7 separate regions of the Homo sapiens genome follow, and regions 1, 2, 3, 4, 6 and 7 are each linked to region 5. Evidence: promoter capture Hi-C in 16 types of primary human blood cells and fetal thymus (Javierre and others, 2016). All regions are on one chromosome and are shown on one strand. Each heading gives the region's core, a stretch centred on a gene start or on the middle of the fragment in contact. The rest is flanking DNA. Distances are from core to core; before and after follow the strand shown.

The links. The method cuts DNA at HindIII sites, captures the fragments that hold promoters and counts their contacts. A CHiCAGO score of 5 or more calls a contact.
Region 1: a contact is called between a fragment that was not itself captured here and the fragment with the promoter of SMC6 in region 5, in 1 of 17 cell types (neutrophils). The highest score is 5.9, in neutrophils.
Region 2: a contact is called between a fragment that was not itself captured here and the fragment with the promoter of SMC6 in region 5, in 3 of 17 cell types (neutrophils, total CD8 T cells and total CD4 T cells). The highest score is 8.3, in neutrophils.
Region 3: a fragment that was not itself captured here is called in contact with the fragment with the promoter of SMC6 in region 5 in 2 of 17 cell types (neutrophils and naive CD8 T cells); the score reaches 10.5 in neutrophils.
Region 4: a fragment that was not itself captured here is called in contact with the fragment with the promoter of SMC6 in region 5 in 1 of 17 cell types (naive CD8 T cells); the score reaches 6.9 in naive CD8 T cells.
Region 6: a fragment that was not itself captured here is called in contact with the fragment with the promoter of SMC6 in region 5 in 1 of 17 cell types (total B cells); the score reaches 7.4 in total B cells.
Region 7: the fragment with the promoter of GDF7 here is called in contact with the fragment with the promoter of SMC6 in region 5 in 2 of 17 cell types (neutrophils and naive CD8 T cells); the score reaches 8.0 in neutrophils.

The regions. Positions count from the first base shown.
Region 1 is chr2:20,355,444-20,358,919 of GRCh38, forward strand. No RefSeq gene overlaps it. Among named protein-coding and RNA genes, the nearest start is that of PUM2, 6.3 kb to the left of the region's middle. The HindIII fragment of the contact is 4,865 bases long and covers 1-3,476 here.
Region 2 is chr2:20,333,493-20,337,182 of GRCh38, forward strand. All of the region lies in intron 1 of PUM2 (pumilio RNA binding family member 2), which reads right to left. Among named protein-coding and RNA genes, the nearest start is that of PUM2, 16 kb to the right of the region's middle. RefSeq lists an enhancer at 653-712. The HindIII fragment of the contact is 1,234 bases long and covers 1,417-2,650 here.
Region 3 is chr2:20,644,149-20,647,856 of GRCh38, forward strand. It overlaps HS1BP3 (HCLS1 binding protein 3), which reads right to left. Exons shown (of 7, transcript NM_022460.4): 2 at 1,192-1,357. Among named protein-coding and RNA genes, the nearest start is that of HS1BP3, 5.1 kb to the right of the region's middle. The HindIII fragment of the contact is 4,461 bases long and covers 1-3,650 here.
Region 4 is chr2:20,059,258-20,063,061 of GRCh38, forward strand. It overlaps LAPTM4A-DT (LAPTM4A divergent transcript), which reads left to right. Exons shown (of 5, transcript NR_187142.1): 2 at 2,524-2,789. Among named protein-coding and RNA genes, the nearest start is that of LAPTM4A-DT, 9.0 kb to the left of the region's middle. The HindIII fragment of the contact is 3,831 bases long and covers 1-3,702 here.
Region 5 is chr2:17,752,368-17,755,888 of GRCh38, forward strand. SMC6 (structural maintenance of chromosomes 6) reads right to left here and starts at 1,443. Exons shown (of 28, transcript NM_001142286.2): 1 at 1,259-1,443; 2 at 611-697. GEN1 (GEN1 Holliday junction 5' flap endonuclease) reads left to right here and starts at 1,771. Exons shown (of 14, transcript NM_001130009.3): 1 at 1,771-1,978. RefSeq lists silencers at 919-1,278, 1,419-1,558. The HindIII fragment of the contact is 9,742 bases long and covers 1-3,053 here.
Region 6 is chr2:20,302,190-20,306,009 of GRCh38, forward strand. The region is part of intron 7 of PUM2 (pumilio RNA binding family member 2); the gene reads right to left. Among named protein-coding and RNA genes, the nearest start is that of PUM2, 47 kb to the right of the region's middle. The HindIII fragment of the contact is 1,184 bases long and covers 1,237-2,420 here.
Region 7 is chr2:20,665,190-20,669,065 of GRCh38, forward strand. GDF7 (growth differentiation factor 7) reads left to right here and starts at 1,955. Exons shown (of 2, transcript NM_182828.4): 1 at 1,955-2,441. The coding sequence starts at 2,051. RefSeq lists enhancers at 698-1,528, 2,515-2,634 and silencers at 1,615-1,724, 1,795-1,844, 1,885-2,034. The HindIII fragment of the contact is 16,143 bases long and covers 1-3,876 here.

The sequences.
Region 1 (3,476 bases), core at 531-3,030, 2.6 Mb after region 5:
TCAACCTCAAAGGTTAAAATTATAAATATCATTAATAGGACATTGTAATTTTTCAAACTGTATGTTTCAGTATTGATCAGTGCTGAATTCCTTTCCATTGAAGATAGATTAACAGTCTGACTTTTGCTGAGCGCGGTGGCTCACGCCTGTAATCCCAGCACTTTGGGAGGCCAAGGCGGGTGGATCACGAGGTCAGGAGTTTGAGACCAGCCTGGCCAACATACTGAAACCCCATCTCTACTAAAAATACAAAAATTGGCTGGGCATGGTGGTGTGCGCCTGTGGTCCCAGCTACTTGGGAGGCTGAGGCAGGAGAATCACTTGAACCCAGGAGGTGGAGGTTGTGGTGAGCCAAGATCGTGCCACTGCACTCCAGCCTGGGCAACAGAGAGAGACTCTGTCTCAAAAATAAAAAAACAGTCTGACTTTCTACCACCTCTTCCCTGTCCTTCCTAATTTTTTGCTTATAATTTTTTATTATATTAATACTTTGTCAAAAAATACTTCGTCAGGTTTTATGATATTTACATTCTATTTTATCCATGATTTCCCTGTTGATTTGTCTTAATTTCAGTATTTAAGTATATTCATTGTTCACTGCTCTATTTCTGACCTGTTCATTTTGATTTGCTTATATAGATTTCATCATGTATCAGTTAGCATTTACTTGTGTTACAAACTACCCCCAACGATTATTTGTTTATTCGATCACAACCTGTGGGTTGGTGAATTTGGCTGGGTTCAACTGGGAGGTTTTGTGGATCTTTCCTGGCTCACTTATGCAATAACAGTCAGCTGGTGGCTTAACTTAATGGTTGAGGTTTGGTGATCAGCCAAGGCACCTTGTAGTCTCTCCAACAGGCTAGCTCAGGCTTGTTCACATGGTAGCAGACTAAGAATGGAAGCTGCAAGGCCTCTTGAGAGGGCTCAGCTTGGAACTCAAATAGTATCCCTTCCACCACAATTTATTGGTGAAAACAAATCATGACGCCAGCCCAGATTCAAAAGACTTTATCTTTTGATGGGAGGAATTACAAAAAAATTTTTGTTCATTCCATGATATCCTCATATTGCAAGTTATTTCATGTTTAAAAATGACCTCCTGGCCAGGCACAGTGGCTCATGCCTGTAATCTCAGCACTTTGGGGGGCCAAGGAGGGCGGATCGCTTGAGCTCACATATTTGAGACCAGTCTAGGCAACATGGTGAAACCCCATCTGTACAAAAAATACAAAAAAATTAGCTGGGCATGACGGTGTGCGCCTGTAGTCCCAGCTACTTGGGAGACTGAGATGGCAGGATGGTTTAGCCTGGGAGACAGAGGTTGCAGTGAGCTGAGATCACACCACTGTGCTCCAGTGGGCGAGAGAGCCAGACCTTGTCTCAAAACAACAACAACAACAAACTAAAAATAAAAATGCTTTCCTCTTTTGTTAAATAACACCTATCCTCAGGTTTTGCTTTTTTCTTCTTTTATGTATTTCTTTTAATTTTATAAAAATGTGAATGGCCAGGCACAGTGACTCACGCCTGTAATCCCAGCATTTTGGGAAGCTGAGGCAGGAGGATCACTTGAGCCCAGGAGTTCAAGACCAGCCTGAGCAACATAGCAAGAACCCATCTCTACAAAAAAAATTTAAAAGTATTAGCCAGGCATAGTGGCATGCCCCCGTGGTCCCAGACACTCTGGAGGTTGAGGCAGGATGATCACTTGAGTCCAGCAATTCAAGACCAGCCTGGGCAACATAACGAGATACTGTTCAAAAAAAAAAAATTATAGAAGAAATCTGCAAACTACACCTCTTAACAGCTAGCTCTCTGTTAGGCTCTGCAAATAGTGGGCAACTAGAAAAAGATTAGAAGGCAGAAGAAGGCCAGGCACGGTGGCAAAAAGATAGAAGGCAGAAGAAGGCCGGGCGCGGTGGCTCACCCCTGTAATCCCAGCAATTTGGGAGGCCAAGGTGGGCAGATCACCTGAGGTCGGGAGTTTGAGACCAGCCCCACCAACATGGAGAAACCTGGTCTCTACTAAAAAAAAAAAAAAAAAAATATATATATATATATATATATATATTTTAAAAAATGTAAAATATATATATAAAATATATATATATATAAAGTATATATATAAATATAAAGCCAGGCATGGTGGTGCATGCCTGTAATCCCAGCTACTCAGGAGGCTGAGGTAGGAGAATCGCCTGAACCTGGGAGGCGGAGGTTGCGGTGAGCCAAGATGGTGCCATTGCACTCCAGCCTGGGCGACGAGAGTGAAACTCCATCTCAAGAAAAAAAAAAAAGAAGGCAGAAGAAAGGAGAAGTCTTTCGCTCCTTCCTGTTCGCATGTAATTTTTGTCAGAATGACCCCAGAACGGTATGTCAGCCCAACTGCAGCAGCTGGTTCCAGTTTCCAATTTCCCTTGCATTCTCTGATTAGAATAGAATTAGCCTTGTTTTACCCCCTCAGAGGAATAAGCAGCAGCTGGACCGCACCCCTCCCTAGAGGCCTAAGACCCAGCTCCACGGGGCCTCTTCTTCGAACTCAGGAGCATCCAGGGTACCCCTTCCTCAGAGGTCCATGTCCCAACTCTTTGGGGCTTCTCTTCTACATAGAAGGTTCAGATAACATCCACCTCTCTCCTTTATTTCCCTTTATTCCTTTATTTCCCCAGGGGTGGTGGCTGCTTACTGCAGTTACTCACTCTGTGTTACCTCACTAACCCTTTTTGTTTTGCCATCTCTTGAGTGCCTATTTAACCAATTCCCTATGTTAAATTCTCTCTGTTGAAATAATCAATGTGGTTTCTGTTTTTCTGACCAGACCTTAATCGATGCATCATCTTCTGGAACTTATTTTATTGAAGTCATGTTATTATATTCTTTTCTAGCATCAGCGGTTTCAGAAAATGTGACTTTATGTCTTTCTGTAAAACATCTTTGCCCATGCCTTGTCAGATTTTCTGCGTCTTCTTTTTTTGTGTTTAAATGAGTTTGTTTTAGATAACATTGTTAGTTCTTACATTTTAAACAGATTTATTGAGAGATAATTCACACACTATACAATTTAACGTGTACAATTCTATGGTTTTTAGTATATTCGCAAATATATGCAACCATGACCACATTCAATTATAGAATATTTTTATTAATCTTATTTTTGCAATCTTTTATTGAATGGTGCTGCTCCTTGTGGAGCAGGGCTAATTCATAGGTTATGCACCCAGCGTCTATATAGAATATTTTTATCATTTATTTTCTTTTTTTCTTTGTTTTTTTTTTGAGACGAGTCTTGCTCTGTCGCCCAGGTTGGAGTGCAGTGGCGTGATCTGGGCCCACTTTAAGCTCCGCCTCCTGGGTTCACGCCATTCTCCTGCCTCAGCCTCCCAAGTAGCTGGGACTACAGGCCCCCACCATCACGCCCGGCTAATTTTTTTTTTTTTTTTTTGTATTTTTAGTAGAGATGGGGTTTCACTGTG
Region 2 (3,690 bases), core at 784-3,283, 2.6 Mb after region 5:
TAAGACCCTGTCTCAAAAAAAGAAAAGCAACAACAACAACAACAAAAACAAAAGCCAAAAAATTGACAAATATCTTGTGTAAAGAAGCAAGAAAATGCATTAATATAGGACATTTACATTATTAAAAGTATTTGTTTTGGCTAGGCATGATGGTTCACGCCTGTAATCTCAGCACTTTGGGAGGCCAATATAGAAAGATCACTTGAGCCCAGGAGTTCAAGACCAGCCCTTGCAACATAGCGAGACCCTGAGATATGGTTTGGATCTGTGTCCCCACCCAAATCTCATGTCAAAACGTAAACCCCAGTGTTAGGGGTGGGGCCTAGTGGAGGGTGACTGGATCATGGGGGCGGAGTTCTCATGAATGGATTATTGCCATCCCCTCAGTGCTACTCTTGTGATAGTTTTTCTAAGATCTAGTTGTTTAAAAGTATGTAACACCTTCCCCTCTCTTCCTCCTGCTACAGCCACGTAAGAGGTGCCTGCTTTCACTTCACCTTCTGTCATGATTCTAAGTTTCCCGAGGCCTCCCCAGAAGTAGAAGCCACTATGCTTTCTGTACAGCCTGTAGAACCATGAGACAATTCAACCTCTTTTCTTTCTAAATTACCCAGTCTCAGACATTTTTAAATACATCCTGTTTCTACAAAAAAAATTTTTTTTTAAAAAATTAGCCAGGCATGGTGACATGCACCTGTAGTCCCAGCTACTCAGGAGGCTGAGGTGGGAAGACTGCTTGAGTCTGGGAGGTCAAGACTGCAGTGAGCCATGGTCCGCTCCACTGCACTCCAGATTGGGTGACAAAGCAAGACTCTGTCTCAAAAAAATTTTTTAAATTAAAAATATTATTTCTTCCTGGATATCTGGTTCAATTTCTTACCATATGCCTACATTAAAAACAGGGTGGGGAAAGCATTTGGAGATACAATAAATGGTATTAAAGCACTCTACTGCCACATGGTACTAATCACACTTTTATAATCTTGTAATTATAAATTAACACCATAGTAGAAATTAACCTCTGGGGTCAAAGGGATTAGTGACTGTCTTAGCTATGTAAACGTTCAACATTTAATGAATGAAAAAAACCATATTTTATGAAATGTGAATTCCGATCATAAAATCAATTAGTATCTGGATAGTGACTAAGTATTTACATATCTTCATATATTAACATACAATGCTTATTTTAACATAAGGACAATGAACAAGGCTTTCGCTTAGACTTTTTGTACTGCTGAAGACATTTACCAACACAAAATGACTAATGATTGCAACTTCACACAGGCACTACTTCTCCAAGTCTGTCATCTACAGCCTGGAGACTGTACCTTCCTTTTGCATCAATTACAAAGACAACAAAATTACATAAAAACCTAGTTGAGTCACAAATAAGTCAATACACAGAGTGACTTAAGCTTCTTAGGACATATTCTCCGTAATCATCCTCCTTGGACTGTTTTGTTTTTTTTTGAGACAAGGTCTCACTCTATCACCGAAGCTAGAGTACAGTGGGGCAATCATAGCTCTCTGCATCCTCTCACCTCAGTCTCCGGGAGTATCTGGGACTAAAGGTGCATGCCACCACCCCCAGCAAATTTTTGTATTTTTTGTAGAGACAGGGGTCTCCCTATGTTGCCTAGGCTGGTCTCAAACTCCTGGGCTCAAGCAGCCCTCCTGCCTCAGCCCCTCAAAGTGCTAGGATTAAAGGTGTGAGCCACTGCACCCAGCTGGACTGATTTTAATGAACATAATCATTGAACATCCGTGGTATCTACGGCAAACAAACAAGTGCTGAATTCCTAAAGAATACTTTCTTCTGCTCAGCAAATTAAATCACTTTATTGCAAATCTGCCAACAAACTTTTTTTGTTTAGCAATGCTTTTTCTCATTCACATGACAAAAGTAAATCTAAATCCAGGTTTAGGTATTTATAGGAGACCATTAGCCTTTAAAGATTTAACAAAGTTTCTACTATTCAAACCAACTCTTGGTAATTTCTTATTTTTCTGAGGGCATAAATTGAATCATACAGTTTTTCAGTGACGAACAAGTCACTTAGCTAGTGGGTCAACCAAGAGCTAAATCAACAGTCTGTTTTCTAGTTTGTCCAAATACTTTCATGGGGGAGTTACCTCTGCTGGCTTTACTAGCAAGGCAAAAAAGCTCTATAACAAAGAATAGTATTACTGACTCAATTATAATAAGGAAAAGTAAAGTTTTATGTTTTGAATGAAATTTGGCATAAAAATTAGTGTTGTCAACATACAGACTTACAGAAGCCAAAAATCTCCTTCAAAGACCCTATTAGCTCAAAGCTCAAATCTTTTAATGTTTTATTCCAACCCCATCATTTAGACAAATCTATATATGTGCAAACATAAGATTTTTGTTCCATTAAAATTCTCTGAAAGGGGAATCACCATATATTTGGGTCCTTACAAAAGTTTCTCCTCTTATAAGGCATCCTCTCAACTGACTTATTTGGAGAATCAAAATACTGCTGAAGAAAAGTTGCCTTATTTTGAAAAATATACTACTTAGATAAGATCTACACACTAAACAGCCTCAATCTATGCTGGGTTTTGATGCTTTAGGTATTGTCTGAGAGAAGCAGGTCAAATAATTTAGATGGAAATGAAGATGACAAGCTTTAGAAAACTGTTTACATAACACAAAAAGCGTTTTTTTGTTTTTTTGTTTGTTTTTTTTTGAGGCAGGGTCTCACTATTGCCCAGGATGGAGTGCAGTGGCATTGATTATGGCTCACTACAGCCTTGACCTCCTGGGCTAGTGATCCATCTACTCAGTATCCTAAGGAGCTGGGACTACAAATGCATACCACTATGCCCAACTAATTTTTGTATTTTTTGTAGAGACAGGGTTTTGCCATGTTGCCCAGGCTGGTCTTGAACTCCTGAACTCAAGTGATCTGCACCTTGCCTTGGCCTCCCAAAATGCTAGCATTACAGGAATGAGCCAATGTGCCTGGCCTAAAAAGTGGTTCTAAAGTTAAAGATATAATTTTTTTTTTTTTTAAAGAGACAGGGTCTTGCTCTGTTGCCCAAGATGGAGCACAGTGACGTAATCAGGGTTCACTGCAGCCTTGACCTCCCAGGCTCAAGGGAACCTCCCAACTCCGCCTTCTGAGTAACTGGGACCACAGGTGCCACCAGGCCTGGCTAATTTGTGTGTGTGTGTGTGTGTGTGTGTGTGTGTTACAGACGGGGTCTCACCATGTTGCCCAGGCTGATCTGTGTGTGTGTGTGTGTGTGTGTGTGTGTGTGTGTGTGTGTGTGTGTGTGTGTGGTACAGACGGGGTCTCACCATGTTGCCCAGGCTGATCTGGAACTCGTGAGTTCAAGTAATCCTTCCACCTCGGCCTCCCAAAGTGCTGGGATTACAGGCATAAGTCACCACACCTGGCCTAGTATTCCTAAATTATTTTCTGTGATTTAAAATGTGACATCATCCTAATAGTGGAGTAAGACATTATATGATTCATAATGTAATATGAAACAGTACCACCACATATGAAGAACTGCCTTCAAAAAACACTAAGCTTCAATTTGTCTAATATTATAATAAAACTACTGATCTAAATACATATTTATGACATAAAATTTTGAAGCGGGGGAAGCAGATTACACAGACTGTGGTATAGGCCTAAATGTCAAAAAAAAAACTGT
Region 3 (3,708 bases), core at 170-2,669, 2.9 Mb after region 5:
CAGGTCCTTTTCACAAGAGGCCAAATGGTAAATAATAAGCCAATGAGTGTGTGATCTCAACCCTCTTGAAATTCTCTCCTCCCTTAGCTCCTCTGACTCCGTAGATACCCACCCAGTTCTCTCCTCTCTGCCTCAACTGCAGACTCCTCCTTCTCCCCAAGAGTCCCTGAACCCCTGGCATCCTCAGGATTTCCTCCTCAGCCCTTCTCTCTGCCTTCCACTTCTGTTCTCTGGGCAACTTGATCCACTCCCAGATTTTTAATATCACCTCCAAGTTGATGACTCCCAAGCCTACATCTCAGGCCTGAGCTCGTCCCGAGCTCCAGCCTCATGTATCCATCCACAGGGCAGACACTTCACACTCCACATGCCCCCTAGGTCTGCTCCTCCATCATATTCTTTATTTCAGTTGGTGGAAACAGTCAGCAAATGTGGTGCATGTTACCCAGTAAACATTTTCAACTCTCCCTTTCCCTTCCATACCAAGTGCAACTGGCCTGCTCCAAGCCCTTGATTTGGGAATGACCATATTGGCCATGTATCTGGGCTCCCTGACACCTGTTTTGTTCCTTCCAATCCAACTCCATGCTCTCAGCAGATTGGCTGGTTAAAGGCAAAAGGGTCCACGTCACTCCCCTGCTTAAAACTCTCCTTGGCTGCAGGTTAAGTCCAGGCTCCCGCAGACTCTCCACAATCTGGATCCTGCCTGTCACTCACCTTCATCTTCCCCGCTTCCTCCCAGGACCACACTCAACTGTGCAGAGTTCCCACTCAATGTCCTATTTCCAACCTCCGTGCCTTTGCTTAGGATGTGTTGTCTGCCCGGGACACCCTTCTCACCTCTCCTGCTGAGCCCCATCTGTTCCTCAAAACACAGCTCAGCCACCGCCTCTTCCAAGAAGTTTCCCCAGGGTCAGTTAGGTGCCCCTTCTCTATACCCCCAGAGCCCCCCAGGTGCTCCTGTCCCCATCTGTATCTGTCTCTTTAGAGGTCTGCCTCTCCACGGACTGAGAGCGTCTGATTCACCCTGTGTCCCTTCTGTCTAGCATGGTCTGGTACTCCAGGCCCTGAGCAAGCAACAGACAGAGAAGCACTTGCTCTGGATGCTACTTGAACCCTGGTGGGCAGATGTGTCTGCCCGCCCGGACCCCGGGCACCCTCGAAACATCCTGGCCAGAGCCTCCGGCTCACCAAGAACTGGACGACATCCTCGGGCCTGTGCTTGGCCGACTTGAACGCAGCCAGACGGGTCACCACCAGGATCTGGTACTCCACGTGTCCAGACATCATCTTGCCCCGTACCTCCTGGTGCTGGGGCACAGTCAGGTCGAGGCCAGTGTGGGCATTCTGAAGTCGCCTGCCAGGGGAAAAGAAGGCAGGTGGGGTTCAGGGTCAAGGCAGTAGGCTTCCCGAGCAAAGTGCAGGCAGGGCCTCTGGGTGCCTGGCAGGCCTGGGTGCCAGGTGACTCTGCTGGCTGTCCTCAGTGGTCACTGCTCCAGGCCACCCATCCCGCCACACCAGCCCTCATAAGCCTGGCTTCCCAGGCCTCGAGGCCTCGGACCTGGTCCTGCCTTTGGGTTGCTCAGGGACAAAGGTCTGCTCCCTGCAGGAAAACAGGAAAGGATGGGGCTTGTTGAAAGGGATCGACACAAACTCTGTGCAGAATGGGTGGGAGCAGCATCCTAGGGCCTCTACTCAGACCAAGGAACATGCCTGGGGCTGCAGGGACAGCAAGGGATTGAAATCCCAGCTGGAGACAGGCACCTCTCTTTGGCTAATGGGCAGGAGGGCTGCTACAGGCCCCCTGGGGGGGACACGGGACGAGCACTGGAGGCAGGACCCTTGTGACCCACCGTGGCCCAGAGAGGCACTGATAGGCCCGTCCCTCATCTGGGCAGTCGATGCTGCCCCTCGAGGTGTAGAGAGGATGCATCGGCAAAACATCACCGCTCTTGGAGATTTGTAAAATGCAATTCGAATATAATGAATTGTATGATGAGCAAAGAAGTGATGAGATGTTTTTCTTGAAGTGGAAAAAGTTATTAAATACATCCCTCATCCTACATAAGGTGAGACACAGACCTGTGCAGACTAACATCCCTCACGCAAACACCTCTGGCAGGACACGTGGGGCACCCTCTGAGCAGCTCTGACCATCGAGGTGAGACCTCCTGTGTGCTGGGCAGGACCCTGAAAACACGGGAGGAGCTTCTGGAGCTTAACCTGTGTCTGGGGCAAGGCCCTTCCCTCTCTGGAATTATACCCCAATCCATCAAATCCCCCTGCCCCAGCACTCCTCCCACACGGACCCCTCACATCCCACGCTAGGCCACGCTGTCACCAGCACAACGCTGCTGTCACCAACTGGTGAGGCCTACAGTGATGCGTCTCCTATGCCATGTATGACACCCAATGACTGAGTGCTGTACACACAAGGAATATCCTCCCGCGGCGTAGGGCACCCCAGGCAACCTGCCTTCAGGTGGTGAAAAGTGCAGCAAGGGCCGAATGGGCACTGGGAGGTGCACACGCACAGCCAGCCCTCTGCCAACGGCACCGAGTTCACGCAGTGTGCACGCGCGGCCTGGTGTCACCCACGGTGTCACTGCCACCAGTGTGGAGGAGGAAGGTGAGGCTGGATGCTGAGGGGAGACGCGCTGGGCTCTAGGGATGCACCTGTGTGAAGTCACTTCCGCCTCCTGCAACCCTGCGAAGGAGCTCTGCTACCCAGACCCACTTAAAATACAGGGAAACAGACCCCTAAAGGGAAAGTGCCTGCCCAGGTCTCACCCGGCATGAGGTGGAGCTGCGTTCAATCCCAGGCAGCTGCTCCAGAGCCCAGGTGGCCTCTTATGGGGCAGGCATGAGAAAGAAGCCAGGCATCATTTCTTTAGGATCATGATGAAAACGAGGCACAGGGGGGTGAAAGTGACAAGAAGGGCAGTGCCTGAGCTGCGGGGAGGTCCTCTCAGGGGTGGGAAAGGGATGGAGCAGACCCAGATGGGCACCTCCCACGATCCAGCTCCCTCACAGCACCCCACATCCAATGGTTCTCTGACCACGCCAGAACCCACAATCCATAACCCCACCCCTTTTCCAGGGTCCCATTCCATTGCTGGAATCCCTCTGCCTTAGGCCCAGCTCCCCTGACTTCTTACCCAGAGCTGAGCTGGCCTGGTCAAAGCCCACTTCTCCAGTTCTCTGCTTCCTTCACCCTGTGCCCAAGTGGCTCAACGTGACTGGGGACAGACATGGTGTAAACATGCAGCCTGGTCCCATTGAAATTCATGGCTGCAGACTTGAAGGCACAGCACCACACCAGGCTTGGCAACCCTACCTTGCCCTAGATGTGGGGTTCTCAAAGTGTGGTCCCTGGATCAGGATCAGCATCGCCTGGGAACTTGTAAGAAAGGCATGTTCGGGCCTAGGGTGGCCAGCCATCTTGTTTTCTTAGTAAGCCCTCCGACGAGTCTGATGCACCTGGGCCTACTCCATCACCCTCCCACTTCCCTGAACCCATAGGAAAACTTTCTCTACAGGGTCAGATAGCAAATATTTCAGGCTGTGTAGGGTATCTGGTCTCTGCTGCAGCTGCTACGGAGAGTACATAAACAAATGGGGGTGTGGTGGGCAGGATGTGCCCTAGACCAAGCTTCTCCAACTGTAATGTGCGTGCAACCCCCTGGGGATCCTGTTAATATGCAGATT
Region 4 (3,804 bases), core at 537-3,036, 2.3 Mb after region 5:
CTTTCTAGTAAAGGATATATCAGTAGTTACCTTAGATAAACAAAAGCTCTTCATTGTCCTCTATAATTTTTAAGAGTATGAAGAGGTTTTAGACCAAAAAGTAAGTTTAGAAACCACTAACTTGAGCCTTCTGACTGCCCTTGTGGACAATGGTTACAAATATTCAGAATGTGACTCTAGGATACTAAGAGCTGCCACCTGAAGATTTTTTAATAGAGGCGAAAAGCAGATTTAGGATTTTCAAATTCTTTTTTCTTTTCATTAAAAAAAATTAAAATAGAGACGATGTCTCACTATGTTGCCCAGGCTGGTCTCGAACTCCTGATCTCAATTGATCCACCCACCTCAGCCTCCCAAGATGCTGGGATTACAGGCATGAGCCACCATGCCTGGCCTCAAAATTCTTAATACCATAGGTGTTAAGTCCATTCAGGCTGCTATAACAAATTACGATAAACCGAGCAGCTTATAAACAGCAGAAATTTATTTCTCATGGTTCTGGAGACTGGGAAGTCCAAGATCAAGGTGTCAGTAGATTTGGAGTCTGATCAGGGCCTGCTTTCCAGTTCACAGATGGCATCTTCTTGCTGTGTCCTCACATAGTTGAAGGGGTGAGGGGGTTTTTATATAAGGGCACTAATCCCATTCATGAGGGTTCCACCCTCATGATATAATCACCTCCCAAAGGATCCACCTCCTAATACCATCACCTTGGGGTTAGAATTTTAATTTTAATTTGGGAGGGACACAAACATTCAGACCATAGCACTGAGTTTAAACAATTCTCCATTAACTTCCATTTAGATTATTGGCTAATTAGTATTTGCTTAACAAAAAGCTCCTTGTCTGAATCTCAGTTTCTTCACCTGTAAAAGGGAAATAAGATTTCTTTCTTAATCAAGGTTTAATGTTCTTACTGTAATGAAAGCAGAAGGCAATCATGCCTTGAAATATTTCCACCACAATTTAATTATTCATCTCTAGTCCCTTGCAGGATTTCTTGTCTGCTGATATTGGTAATTATCTCCTCTAGTCAAATTAAATGTGTGGTTTTTATTTTTAATTGCTCCAGGGTATTAGAAGAATTAATTAGTAAGTGTTGGCCAACTACCTTGAAGATGAAAAGCACTATGTAATTATCACCATGGGAAAAGTGCTTTCCATGCGCTTTGCTGAATTCACTACTTAGGATTATGGGATTAAATGTTAACTTTAAGGACTTCTGGTGTGAATGTGGTAACATAGATTCAGCATCTTTCTTCTTTTTTTCTTTTTTAAATGCTACAAAAACAACAAAAAATGTAAACTTATCTTCAGCAAATTTGGGAGCAGATATAATCCATAGCCTTCAAAATATGAATCAGGGCTGCTGAGAGCAGCTAAGATTAGACAGAAGCCATATAGGAGAAACTGGCAAAGAGCTATGAGGTTCAAGTGGCAGCAGAATCCAGAAAGCATCAGTAAACATGATTCCTAAAGTGAGGGACTCACCATGTAGTGGAAATGTGTGGCATCTTGTCAATGGATTTCGGTGAGCAGACCTGGTGGCACCCAAGTCCTCCTGGAACCTGGTTTATTTCAGAGGAGGAGCAAAAAGATATTGGCTACACAATTTAAAAAGAGAAACCATCTGCATTGTTTTGCTAGGGCTACCATAGCAAAAGACCACAAACTGGGTGGCTTAAACAAGAAATGGATTATCTCATAGTTCTGGCAACCTTCCTGATGAAGGTGTTTGTCGAGTTCATTTCTTTTGAGGGGTGTGAGGAAGATCTGTTCCTTTCCTTTTGTGTAGCTTAAAAAGAGTATAGGTTTTTTTTTTGTCTTCAACTTTTATTGTAAGTTCTGGGGTACGTGTGCAGGATGTGCAGGTTTGTTACATAGGTCAATGTGTGCCGTGGTGGTTTGCTGCACAGATCAACCCATCGCCTAGGTATTAAGCCCATCATCCGTTAGCTATTCTTCCTGATGCTCTCCCTCCCCGCAATGCCCCCCGCCCCCAACAGGCCCCAGTGTGTGTTGTTTCCTCCCTGTGTCCATGTGTTCTCATTGCTTAGCTCCCACTTTAAGTGAGAACATGCTGTGTTTGGCTTTCTGTTCCTGTGTTAATTTGCTGAGGATAATGGCTTCCAGTTCCATCTCTGTCCCTGCAAAGGACATGATCTCATTAAAAGGAGTACATTTTAATCAAAGTATTTATTAGCATTGGATTCTAGACTTTCCTTTAAAAGAAGGGCAAACTAAAACACAGCTATAGACTCCAAGAAATGGGTATAATTTGGCTGTTTCTAAGTTAATCCAAGAAGTAAATGTAACTTCATAAAAGCTCAACATGACAAAACTTTCATAGTGAAAGTGGAGTCAGATTCCTCCGAGCTGTGATAGCCATTGCCATCTCATGAGATGGGAGGTGGATTCCGGGAAACCATCCAGGGAAGCTGGACTGATGTTTTAGTCCATGTGGGTTTCTATAGTGGAATACAATAGACCCGGTGACTAATAAACAACATTTACTTCTCACAGTTCCCTCTGGAAAGGCATCAGGGGAGGCATTTGGGAAAGCTGGCACTTTCCTTTTGCCCTTCACATCACATGATTGATTGGAAAAATGGGAAATGACAAGTGGCATCAACAAGCGGGGCAAAGAGCTAGCCCAGTCAACCTACGATGGGCCCCATTCAAGGGGCACAGAGGGACAGAGGGACAGAAGGCTGAAGACTGGCTGGCTGGGGTGCAGCGATGCTACAGAACGCCCCATGGGACTTGGCATGAATAGGAAGCGTGGCCAGGTCAGTGGGCCTCCCCTGTGATGCTCCTTTATCCAGCCCTTCACCAGGCCTGTCCCTGGGTCTCATGCCCTCTGCCATTGGCTAGAAAACTCAGCCAGTGACTGCCACCTGAGAAAGGAAGAAGAGGGATGTGGGCATAGAACAGCCACCCTCCTTGCCCTGCCCTGCCCAGCCCAGCCCACTGGGATCTGCTCTTCCTCTGAGCTCCCCAGCCTGGGCCATGGTGGTGCACAACTGCAGAGGGCACCATTCACATTCCCTGTGCGGGCAGAGTCCACGCCTGCTGCTGGGCAAGAGCACATCCGGCTGGTTTTATTCAGTATCTGGGTGTGAGTTTGTCTTACTACCTTGGCTAGACCAAACTCCTGGAGGGATGGGACATGTTTCTAAATCTTTTTATATACCAAACCACCTAACACTAGCCCAGCTTGATAAATCTTTGCTGATGGATGGGCAACCCAGACATGGAGTCATCTGCCCTGAATTGCAGAAAACCGGGCCATTGAAGCTCACAAGAACACGTATTCTAGAGAGCTCTGCAAACCTGCTTCTGCCCAGCTTTGGCATCTGGGGTTAGCATTAGCCGTTTAGAAATGTGACCTTTTATGACACAGGGCATCTCCCAGCAGTTGCATGATGTGACCAGGGTGGCTTTCTGCCTCTGCTACTTGTGTCAGTTTCTTCCTCCCTAAAAGGGTTCAGTAATGAGTGGGGATTTCATGAGCCATAGGCAGAACTGACTCTGCAGAGCTCGGAGTGGGGTTTGGATTAACCACAGTCATCACCACTGTTTATGCAGCTTTGCAGCCAGCCAAGGCTCAAATTTCTCCCAGAGGCCCACAATATTTCTCTGTGTGATTCTTTTGAAGCATGAGGCCTCAAACCCATACTTAAATACTTCTCCTCTAACGTAAGCTTTGGCGTAGCTAGATGATACTTCACTGAGCCTCCCAAGCCTGCCTACCTTCCATCTGGCCACTAACACTCAGTAAGAAAACTTTGAGCACTTTCAGAC
Region 5 (3,521 bases), core at 193-2,692:
TCTGTGCAACCATCCACTTTTTTTCCTCTGAAATATTTTCAGTCCCTTGATTGAGTCCACGGATACAGAGGATGCACTGATAACTGTATTATTTCTTCCAACTTGCATAAGAAGAACTGAAACTTAAAGAGGTGGTACCAACCTGCTCAGAGTCACACAATTCTGGCTTTTTGTGATATAAATACACGCTTTTAGGCAATATACTAGTGGCCTCCAAACGTTTTGTACTTGCACCCATTAAGCAAAAGAAATTTGAAATACATGTTCCAACATAAAATTAATACCCTATGTTTCACGTAGAAATCAAATGAAATAAATCTAAATAGAAGTTCTAATATGTTCCCTCTCTACCCACACACCCATGGAACAAACTGCATGCCACTGTATATACTATTGTACATGTTAAAAGATCACACTGCAACCATATAAAAGTCAGGAGATTTGGGTTTTTCTTTTTTCCTTTGAATATATATTACTGAGAAGTTTGCCTTTAAAACACTGGCTTTTAATCTACTACTCGTGACATATGCAGAGTAATAAGCGCTCACAAAACTTCTGTCTTGAGGGCTCAAACACCAAATGATTGCTCTAAGAATTTTCACAGTATTACCTCAAACCCTATTGGTTCTACAACCTTTCTCTACCCTAGAGTCCTGTTTTCCGCAATTCCCAATTGGGATTCTTCTCCGGTTCATTTCTGTAAGAAATGAGGGCAGAGAAATGCCATCAGTAAACCTTTGAACACATGTTAATTTTTCTAGGTAATACAATTTGCATTTTCGTAAAACTGGGCTTTAATGACAAATCCGATTTCAGTGATCTTTGCATACACCCTTTAAACACACCAGTTGCCGCCTGCGAGATATCATCAGACTCATGCTAAGAGCCACTCCCTACCCCAGCTTTCCCCAGACCTCTCCCCGCTTTACAGTTATTCGCCACAGCCCGGGAGAGTCTGGGGACGGCCGCCTGGGAGGGGACGGCCGCCTGGGAGGGGACGGCCCGGAGCAGACGCCAGGTTTCCCGCGGCTCAGGAGACCGGTGCCGCCTCGGAGAGCGCGCGAAGGTGCCGCCGGCCGCCCGACCCGCCCGAGGAACGGACATCTCCCGCCCGGGCCCGCAAGGACGACCATGAACACCGCCGCAGCTCAGCTGACCCTGCCTCTCCCGGGTGGCTGGGGGTCGCCAGCCAAGGGGGCAGCGGGCGGAGGATGAACCCCGGAGCAAGGGAAAGCGACAGCGCGCGCCTTCACCCTACCGCCAACAAGTCGAAGTCTCCCAAAGGAACCTGATCGGCGGGGCTGCCGTGGTACGACCGGCCGCTAAGGCCACCCTGCGGGCGTCTCGACCTCGGCTGACCGCCGCTGGCCCCCTGGGAACCGCGTGCCGGCCGCAGGAGAAGGTAGATTCCCGGGAGCCCCGGCGCCCACCGCGGTACTAACCGCGCCTGCGCCCCGCCCTCCCTCCCTTCGGGCTCCGCCCGCGCCTGCGCAGTTGCGGGGTTTCGCGCCGCCGGAGTCTGAGAGGCCGGAAGTGCCCCTTAGCGGGTGGGGGAAGCTGGTAGGCACGGGCGGCTCCGCAGTGACCGGACTCGGGGGAGGTGAGTGATTTGCCTAAGTAAAAGGGAAAGATAATTGAGCGCCCCCGGCAGCTGGTCTACGCATGCGTCCGCTAGGCCGGCTGGGAGCCGGCAAGGGAAAGCCGAGCGGGCCCCATTGGGGGAAAGGGGTCAGTCACTTCCCGGAAGAGGCGGGGCCGCGCGGGCCCGGCGCTGGATTCGAAACGCTTCCTGGTGCTCCTGGGCCTGGCGGTTGAGCCCGGGGAGCTAGTCTTTGCTTGGGTAAAGAAAGAGGACTTTCCTTTTTTTTTTTCCTTTTGAGAAAATTCAGAAATTTGGAGGCACAGTAGTTAGGATTCAGGCCAAACTGGTAAATGACGAAGGGGCTTCTTCCAGAGCCAAGGAGGAAGGGTTGTCCGGGTAAGTCCCGCGGGACGTGGAGAGACGGCGCCGCCCGGGTCCTCCCACTGATTCCTTTGACCATCTGGCTTACGGACGAGCTCTTTGTTCGCTGCTCCTCCGAAAACGCCTTCAATGACTCCCTTTGAATAAAGTAGGAAGTCCGAACCGAGCCGCCAGGCCGCGACTTGGCCCCTGTTTTCCACTCGCGAGGGCCCTGCGTCACCCCGCCTCGGGAAAGCTGCGCGTTCTCCGGCCGCTTGCGCTTGGCCGAAGCTGCTGGGTCCCGCTGTGCTTCCCCCGGGCATGCGATGGGGATAATTCCCACGCCTCGCTCAAAGCCATCCCGGGAGAGCCCTCCCTGGTCCCCATAGGCACAGTTGGGTGTTCCCTTTTCCGTGTTAACCTTGTATTTCGGATATAGTTCTGTTATAGTAATTACTTTAAGGTATTGTAGTTATTTACAATCAGTCTTTCCCCCACGGTAACCTAGAGTGTAAACCCCCTAAATAAACGTCAGAAGTAATGAAGTCTTAACTTCCTTGGCTTAGGTTTCAGCGCCCTTCTCAACCCCACACTCCCGCTTCAGTCTTTACACAACCCTTCCCATGAATATGCTGACCTAACAAGTAACCTACTTTTCATACTCCAAAATCTTCTCTTCTGTGTGGGGAAAATAATGCATTGACTGCCACCTCACTCCACCTCCAAATAAATTGATGTTGAAATTCTGGCCTCCGGTAATGGAATTCTTTACATCAAAGTCACTTTTTATTTCTAAAAGTAATCACATATATATTATATTCCTACTGTGGCCCTTGCCATGGATCAACGAAAAATATGACATAGTCAAAATAGACCAAAACATCTGGCCTTGTTGTAACCAATGGGAAACACGGTTGGGAGGTCCCTACTTACATGTCACTTGCTTCAGGAACCGTTCCTTGATTCCTAAGTGGGGGACCTTTTTTCCTAAATACAACTATAGCTTGCTTTCTTACCTCTTAAGCCCTTTTTATCTGCAGTCTCACTTACCCTACTAAGGTCTTTAAATGCAGGGCTTGATCTTCCATTATTGTATCTCCAGCACCTATAAAGCTTTCCTGTTAAATAGTAGACATTTAATAAGTATTTATTGATAAACGTGAAGTATGCCTCAACGTTTAGGCTAAATTCATATGAAAATAAAATTGAAAAAATAATTTTAAAGAACAGCATTAGTTACTGAGATTATGTGGTAAATCCCTTAAAATATAATCTTGCATTGAAATAGTTTTCACCATTTACCAGTCTTTATATGAATATATACTCATCTAAATGGAAATTGGGAAATTTAAGCATTTTCTGCTTTTCCGAAGTAAATTTTCTAATGTTTTTCTTAAAGCTGAACTAAATTGCAAAACTTGCTTTAATAAAGTGTGTATTTTTGCATCAGTTAAGCCCCTGACCTCTTTATGTTCTTTAAATTTGATTCATTAGTGAAATTAACAAGGTTCTGTGTTTTTCTCACCTCATTCAGTTTTATAATTAACCAATAAAAGCTTATTAGCTTTTAAGGAAGTTT
Region 6 (3,820 bases), core at 579-3,078, 2.6 Mb after region 5:
CAGGTGCCAACACACCTGACTTTCCTGTTTCTGTCATATAAATTCTTGATCCACATTTCTAGATTATTTTCCAGGAAAACTGTACCAGTTTACATTCCAAAAGTATGAGTGCCACTTACACTCCTGCCAAAACAGGACATTATCAAACATTCTGAAGACTCGCCAACCTAATAGGTAAATTAAAAAATTTTTTAAAAATTTTGTTTTAATCCATGGTTGTTTGGCTATCAACAAGGAAATTGTATCAAATCTTTTATGCTTTTGTTTTTCTCATTAAAAATTTCAGTCCATTAGGAATGAGACCCAATAACCGCCCCCCCAAGTTATTTTCCAAATAATCATTCTTTTGGCATTGATTTGAAATTCATCTCATCACTCTACCCTAAACAAGCATGCATGCACACATGGATCTATTTCAAAGTAATCTTGTTCAATGATCTACTCATACATTTTGAGTCCAGTACCACACTATTTTAATTGTCATAGTAATTGTTTTAAAAAACTGAAACTGTGCTCCAAAAAGTTAAAGAAAGCAGTGACTAATGAAAATTCTTGAGTTTGCAGGATGGCAGATATGAAAAGAAAGAATTTGCAGAAAGAAATGCAGAAACTCTGTTCAAATTTGCAGAAAGAAATGCAGAAACTCTCTAAGATAACAAAACTGGCTGAAATCGGTTAAAACCAATATGGACTGCAGTCTGTGCAGAACAAGCTTGCTGACATCACAGCCCAAATTTCCACCACGCTTCATACTAACTCTCCCGCAATTTGCACATGCGACCCATCAGGTGGCATGAAGAGATAGCTGTGCATGCTGAGGACTTCCCAGGCCTCCCCTTTTCTTCCACCAATTACTTAATAATCTCAAAATCCATCCCCTAAGGCCTTTCTAATAAAAATTACTCCCTTAAAGCCAGCACAGGGAGATAGACTTGAGCTGGATTCCTGTCTCCTTGTTGGTTGACCTACAAAAAAAGCTTTTCTTTTCTCAAAAACCTGGTGCCATAGCATTGGCTTCTACTGCATCAGGCAGTGAGTGCTTCTGCTCGGAAACAATATGGTTGAGCAAGTCCTCCTCCTCCGCTTTAATTTTAGTTTTCCATTAATTTTCTGGTTTTTCTGGGAGCACTGCTTGAGCCTGGGAGGTCGAGGCTGCAATTAGCCATAGGCCACTGCACTCTATGCCTGGGTGACAGAAAAGTACCATTTACTTTTCTGAGACAAACATCAAAATCAAGCTTTCAAGTTTTTTTTTTTTTTTTTCAAAAGAGAAAAAAAAACCTGCTGGGATTCTGACCAAGAGTATATTTAATACACACATTAATTTAGGGAGAACTGACATTTTTATAATGCTGAGTTTTGCCCAGAAAAATCACGTCTCCATTTATTCAAGACTTCTGGAAAAGTTTACAGTTTTCTTTACAAATGCTTTGTACATCCTTACTTACTCCCTAACTCATTCCATAGCTTTTCATTTCTCCTTTACATTTCCCATGTCTTGATTACCATAGGGAATTTCAGTGTTCTGGGCGACCATCTACGTTTTATATCCTAATTCATTTAGCGGTAGGTGATAGCCAATTATGCAGCTCACCTAGAACTATTTTTTCAATGACTTATTTACAAGACCATGAAATGGCTCCTTTTCACAGCAATCTGTTGTTTTAAGACTTCTGATAATCTCTGATGGCTCACACCCTTTATCTCTTAAGGTTCTGAAAATACTCTTACATTCTTTGCACAACTTTAAAGTTCCCTTCCATAACTTAGAACTCTGCGACATGTTTTCTGGCTGATCCTTCTTTGTACTGTCATTTTTGTTTGAAACATTATCTTACATGAGAGTTTCTCTTGCACTCACTTGTTCATTATGTGGTATCAGAATTATTGCCTAAACTACATACTATAGGGTCAAATCTCCAAACCAGGTCTTTTATTAGTAGCTGGGGGAGCTCTTACATGGTTACTACAACTCAACCCCCAAAGCCTGAACTGCATAGGCCCCTTTTTGTTTGTTTATTCCTCTTCTAGCCATCTGTAGGTCACCTGGCTTTATTCCCAATTTACCCCCCTATGGATTCTCCCTCAACTCCTTGTACTCTAGGAACTCTCCAACCAACTACATAACCCTGTCTTTTTGTTTTCATTCTATCCTATCTATTATTTCTGTCTGGCCAAGTACATGGGTTAAGCCTGCGTCTTACCTATTTTTGTACAAACTAGCTAAGAATAGTTTTAATATTTTTAAATGGTTCAAAAAAATAAAATTCAAACACATGAAAATTATTTGAAATTCCTATTTCAGCACCCATAAGTAAAGTTTTACTGGAACATAGCAATATTTATGCATCATCTAATAACCATTTTCATGCTTTACCAGCACAGTGGAGTGGTCGTGACCAAACCCATATGGTATGCAAAGCTTTAAATATTCAACAGCCTTTTGTACAGAAGACATTTGTCAACTCACACTCTAAAAATTTTCCACATATAGTCACTGTGCATTTAAAATGTGACTAGTTTGAGATCAGCTATATTCAAAGCTGACTTGAGATCAGCTATATTTCAAAAACAATATAAAGAAAAGAATGCAAAAATTCTCATTAGTAAGTTCCATATTGACTACATTTTGCAATATTTTGGATATGAGCTAAATAAAATATTCAAATTAATTTCACCTATTTTTTAATTTTTAAAAATGTGATTACTAAATAACTGCAAATTATATGGTACATATTATACATATTTCTATCGACTAGTCCTTTTCTAAATGAGCTATTGGCCAGCTAAGAGGTGACCAGGCAAATTTGGATAAAAAAGATTGTCAATAATGAATTTGCTTAACTGTGGAATTGAGTTAAAATGTGGGGTCAATTTTGATACACTATGCTTTCTAGGTTTTCAAATTTATTTATATTAGGTTTCTCACACATGAAAGTTCTGCCACATCTTTAAAGATTACGTAAGTCCAATATTATTAAAATACTCTAAGGCATTAAAATAAGAAAGAAATGGCTGGGCGCAGTGGCTCATGTCTATAATCCCAGCACTTTGGGAGGCTGAGTCAGGTGGATTACTTGAGCCCAGGAGTTCGAGACCAGCCTGGACAATAGGGTGAATCCCCGTCTCTACAAAAAATTCACTGGGCATCATGGCTCGAGCCTATAGTCCCAAGCTATGTGGGAGGCTGAGATGAAAGGATTGCTTCAGCCTGGGAAGCTGAGGCTGTACCACTGCACTCCAGTCTGGGTGACAGAGTAAGACCCTGTCTTCGAAAAAAAAAAAAAAAAAAAAAAAAAGACGTATCTAAAATTATTTTTGTGAAGCAAGAATGCTGACACTAAAAAACGTGAAAAAACTGCAGATACACAGAGACTAATTTCATCTAACTATATAGATGCAAAAATCCTAAATGAAATACTAGCAAATTGAAAGAGTATGTTAAAAGAAATAATTATTATATACAAGTCTTTTTTATTCCAAGAATGGGAAGACGATTCAACTATTTTAAAATATCATTCATGAAATCTGATATATGGTACTTGAGTTTTCATAGATAACACTTTAAAGCTACAATGAAAGACAGGAAGAAAGCCATTTACAATAACAAAACATAAAATACATAAAATAAACTTAGAATGAAATATGCAAACCCCTATGAGAAAAATTTTAAAGCACTCAAATGACACTACAGTAAACTTGAACAAAAATAAAGACACATCACACCCTGGACAAGAATACTTGATGTCAGCAGGGCACGGTGGCTCACGCCTGTAATCCCAGCACTTTGGAAGGCCGAGGTGGGTGGATCACTTGAGCT
Region 7 (3,876 bases), core at 705-3,204, 2.9 Mb after region 5:
TAGGACCCTTCCGCTCTCTGCTCTACACAGCCGGGTAAACTGAAGCCAAGACAAGGCAAGCGACTTGCTGTCACCCAGGACTCCCCGCGTGTTTGCACAAATCTTAGCCGAGTTGATTTGTAAAACACCCAAACACTGCGGGCGCATGGCTGCAGGGGGAAAGGAAGCCAAGTAACACAGTAGGACCCAGCATCCGCGTCAGGGAGAGACCGGGGGGCTGGCGGAGTGGGGGCGGCGGTGTTTGTCACCGACTCTCCAATCCCAGTCCTAGAAGCAGGGTGGACTATCCCAGCTCGATCATCCCAGATTCCCCAGGCTCCTGCTAGGAGAAGTCCCTCAGCGCCGGCAGCGCTGACCCTGGTCCAGGGGTCCGCCCTTCCCGGTAATGTCAGGCCTTTCTCCTTGGCATAGATCGGCCTTGGGGTCTGCGAGGACTGAACCTCACTAGGCCTCTCTCTCCCACCCGCAAACATTCTCGAGTGTTATGCGGCTCAATGCCCCAAGGTGAGCAGGCGCCGCGTCTCCGCGGTGGCCGAGAGGGCAATGGCTGAGGAGTTCGTTTGGGACGAAGCAGTGGAGCAGGGGAACTGGGGAGCCTGGGCCGGGCCTCTCTGTGGGTCCCAGCGCAGCGCAGCCAGGCAGGCGTCGGGACCTAGGCGGCTTTGGATTCGGCGGGCGACCTCGCTTTGAAGCTGATCACCCGCTCAAGGTGATCACGACGTGCCGACCCAGTCTAGATTTTGAGTTCTGCAGAAAATGCAATTTTAAAGGAAAAGGACCCGCCTGCCCTTCTTCGGCAGTTCGTTTGGCCCAGGCCTTCGATCAGCTGAAAGTTTCCGATCTAGGGGGATGTCCAGGCTGCCGGCGGAGCAGAGCCGATAACCCCCCTCTCCTGCGCGTTCCCCTGAGACTTGGCCTCCGCAACCTGTCCCAGCCGCGGAGCAAACTGCTCTGCGGCCCGCGCGAGTGCGCCCCAGGGCTTCGCCGCTGCCGGGCGTCCCCTCCATCCACCTCGGGACCCGCGCCATCACCGCGGCGGGGTAAGAAGCTCGGAGGCGCCATCCCGGGGCTCTGCGCCGTCCGCTCTCCCGGCTCCTGGCCGCTCACGCACACAGCCGGTAGCTGGTTTTCGTTAGCCGCTGCCCTCGCCCAGAAGGCGGGTGGAAGGTCGCCAGTTGGACGCACAGCCAAACTCTTAGCGCACTCCCGCGCGAGATCCCCCATCACCCGGGGCTGCCGTCCTCATTTCGAGCTCTTTCTAGAGCTTGGCTCCCGCTGAAGCGCAACTTCCGCGCCCAAACCTTGCTTTTACGACGGGCGGTCCGCGTCCAAAGGTCTCTTACAGGCCTGCCCTTTCAGCTCCTCGCCCTCCCTTCCTCCCCTACCGGCCCCCTCCCCTGCTCTGGCCGCCCGCTGCAATCCTTTGGGGTCTGTGGCTGAGTGGGGAACCGCCGACCCGCGATCCGGAACGCGACTTTGAGGCCGCCGGGAGCATCCTGTGGCCTCTCTCTGCGCGGCCACCCGGCCGCGGCGCGAAGCGGTCTGGAGGGCGAGCCCTTCCGCGGCCCCAACTCTGCCGCCCCGTTCCCGGCATTGGGAACCAGGGCAGGGAGGGGGCGGGTGTTTCTCTGCGGGGGAGTGGGGAGGAAGCTGGGCGGGTGCGCGCGGTGCCCCGAGCCTGGAACCACGGAGGGCGCGTTGGTCTTGGGCGGATGGAGGGGGTGTCGCACTGCCGCGGGGAGGCGTGTCGGGAGGCTGGGGCCAGTGGCAGTCGCTTGGCGAGGGTGGGGGCGTAGCGCTGCGGTGGGAGGAGGCGGCTCCGGCCCTGGTCTCCACTCTAGGCCGGGGTGGGGGGCGCATAGCGGCCGCCGGAGCTTTCAGCAGGGGGCGCTGCTCCGGGCGTTGGGCGGGGGTGGGGTGGGCCAGGAGGGGGGGCCGCGGGCTGGCCGCGCACACTTCCCCCATTATTAAACACTATGTTCAAAAGGCGCCGGGGGACTTCCCGGAGCCACGGAGCCCGCGCCGCCCGCCCGCCCGGCCCACGGAGCCCATGGACCTGAGCGCCGCCGCCGCGCTGTGCCTTTGGCTGCTGAGCGCCTGCCGCCCCCGCGACGGGCTGGAAGCGGCCGCCGTGCTGCGAGCGGCGGGGGCTGGGCCGGTCCGGAGCCCAGGGGGCGGCGGCGGCGGCGGCGGCGGCGGGCGGACTCTTGCCCAGGCTGCGGGCGCCGCGGCTGTCCCGGCCGCCGCGGTTCCCCGGGCCCGCGCCGCGCGCCGCGCCGCGGGCTCCGGCTTCAGGAACGGCTCGGTGGTGCCGCACCACTTCATGATGTCGCTTTACCGGAGCCTGGCCGGGAGGGCTCCGGCCGGGGCAGCCGCTGTCTCCGCCTCGGGCCATGGTCGCGCGGACACGATCACCGGCTTCACAGACCAGGCGACCCAAGGTACTTACGCCTCTTCTGTGCCCGCCCATCCCGTCAGGTCCTGGGCTGAGACCAGCCCCGGAGCCGTGCCGCAGCTCCGTTACATTTGGAGCCGCGGCCCCATGCGGCCCACCCTCAGGTGATAGAAAGAAACTTCGCCGAGGCCAACACTCTCCAGCCCGCTGCACCTGGACTGTGGCGAGAGTCGCGGCAGCTCCCGGGGCCCAGTCCCAGAGGGCTGACTGGTCCCTCTCCCAGGTCTCCCTGGCCTTGCAGGCCGGCTGGTCCCCTCGAGGAGGCAGGCGGAGGCCAAGATTCGCTTCTTGGGGAATGGTCTGGAGTGGCCTCGGAGCCCTCAGAGAAGAAAGGAGGGCAAGAGCTGTGTTCCCGGGAGTCACGGCGAGAGGGACTGCACGGTGGTGAGGGTGATGGCTCCTTCCTTGCAGCAATTTCTGCAGCTCCCAGTCTCCTGCGGGCCACACAAATTGGGGGAAGCCCAGGGAAAACTAGGGCAGAGGCAGGTATCAGACTAAAGTAAATGGCCCTGGAGAGGCTGGTGGCATAACCAGGTATGAGGAGTGCCCTGCTCAGCAGGTTGGTCTGGGTGGTGGTGGTTTGTGTGTGTGTGACATGTGCAGCTATGGGTGCCTGTGTCTGGTGCTGGGCCCCTGGGAGAGCCAGAGGTCAAGGATCCTGGTGGTGTGGGGAGGAGAGGCCTGCTGGGGACCCTGCAGGAATGCAGGCCTCTCTTAGACTAAGCACCCCACCTTGTTCTGCCCTGGGCCTTCCAAAGGTAAGATGTAGGTGAGGCTGTGGTGTGGCTGCTGTATGTCATCTGGATTTTATTAATCTCCATTGAAATCATTAAAGCAGACAGATAGAGAAAATTTACCTAATTTCAGGCGGAAATGCAAGTAATTTCGGCCTTAATTCTATCCAGCCAGAGACCCAGCATGGAGGGCAGGAGGGAAAGAAAGGCGAATAGGGCTGGGAAGTGAGCGGGTGGGGCTGAGGCAGCCCTGCTTGGGAGCCACTGACAGTCAGCATACCTCAGGTCCTAGCCTGGGAAGGCAGGCAGAGGCCTTGCAAGTGACCAGGTCATCCATCCCTGCCAGCACATGCCCAGTGCCTAGCACAGACTGCCTTATTTTTGGTACCTGGAAATCTTGGTACCCAATCCCCAAATGGCCCTGTGGTTCGGTTAGAACTATCAAGCCTTCTCTGACGGCCTGACATGGCCCCTGGGCTGGATGCTGGGATACTTATAGGACGCCCTAGTTCTGGTGCACAGGGACAGGGACTGAAGGGTCCCAGGCTGCAGGAGAAGGGGGGTGTGCTGGGCTCTAAGTGGGCACAGGCACCAGAGTCTTCTTAAGGTTGAGCTAGTTCTACCATGGTCTCAGACAGGAGATAAATCCTTTCTGGGGAGCTCAGCTTGGCTGGCTGAGCCTGAGAG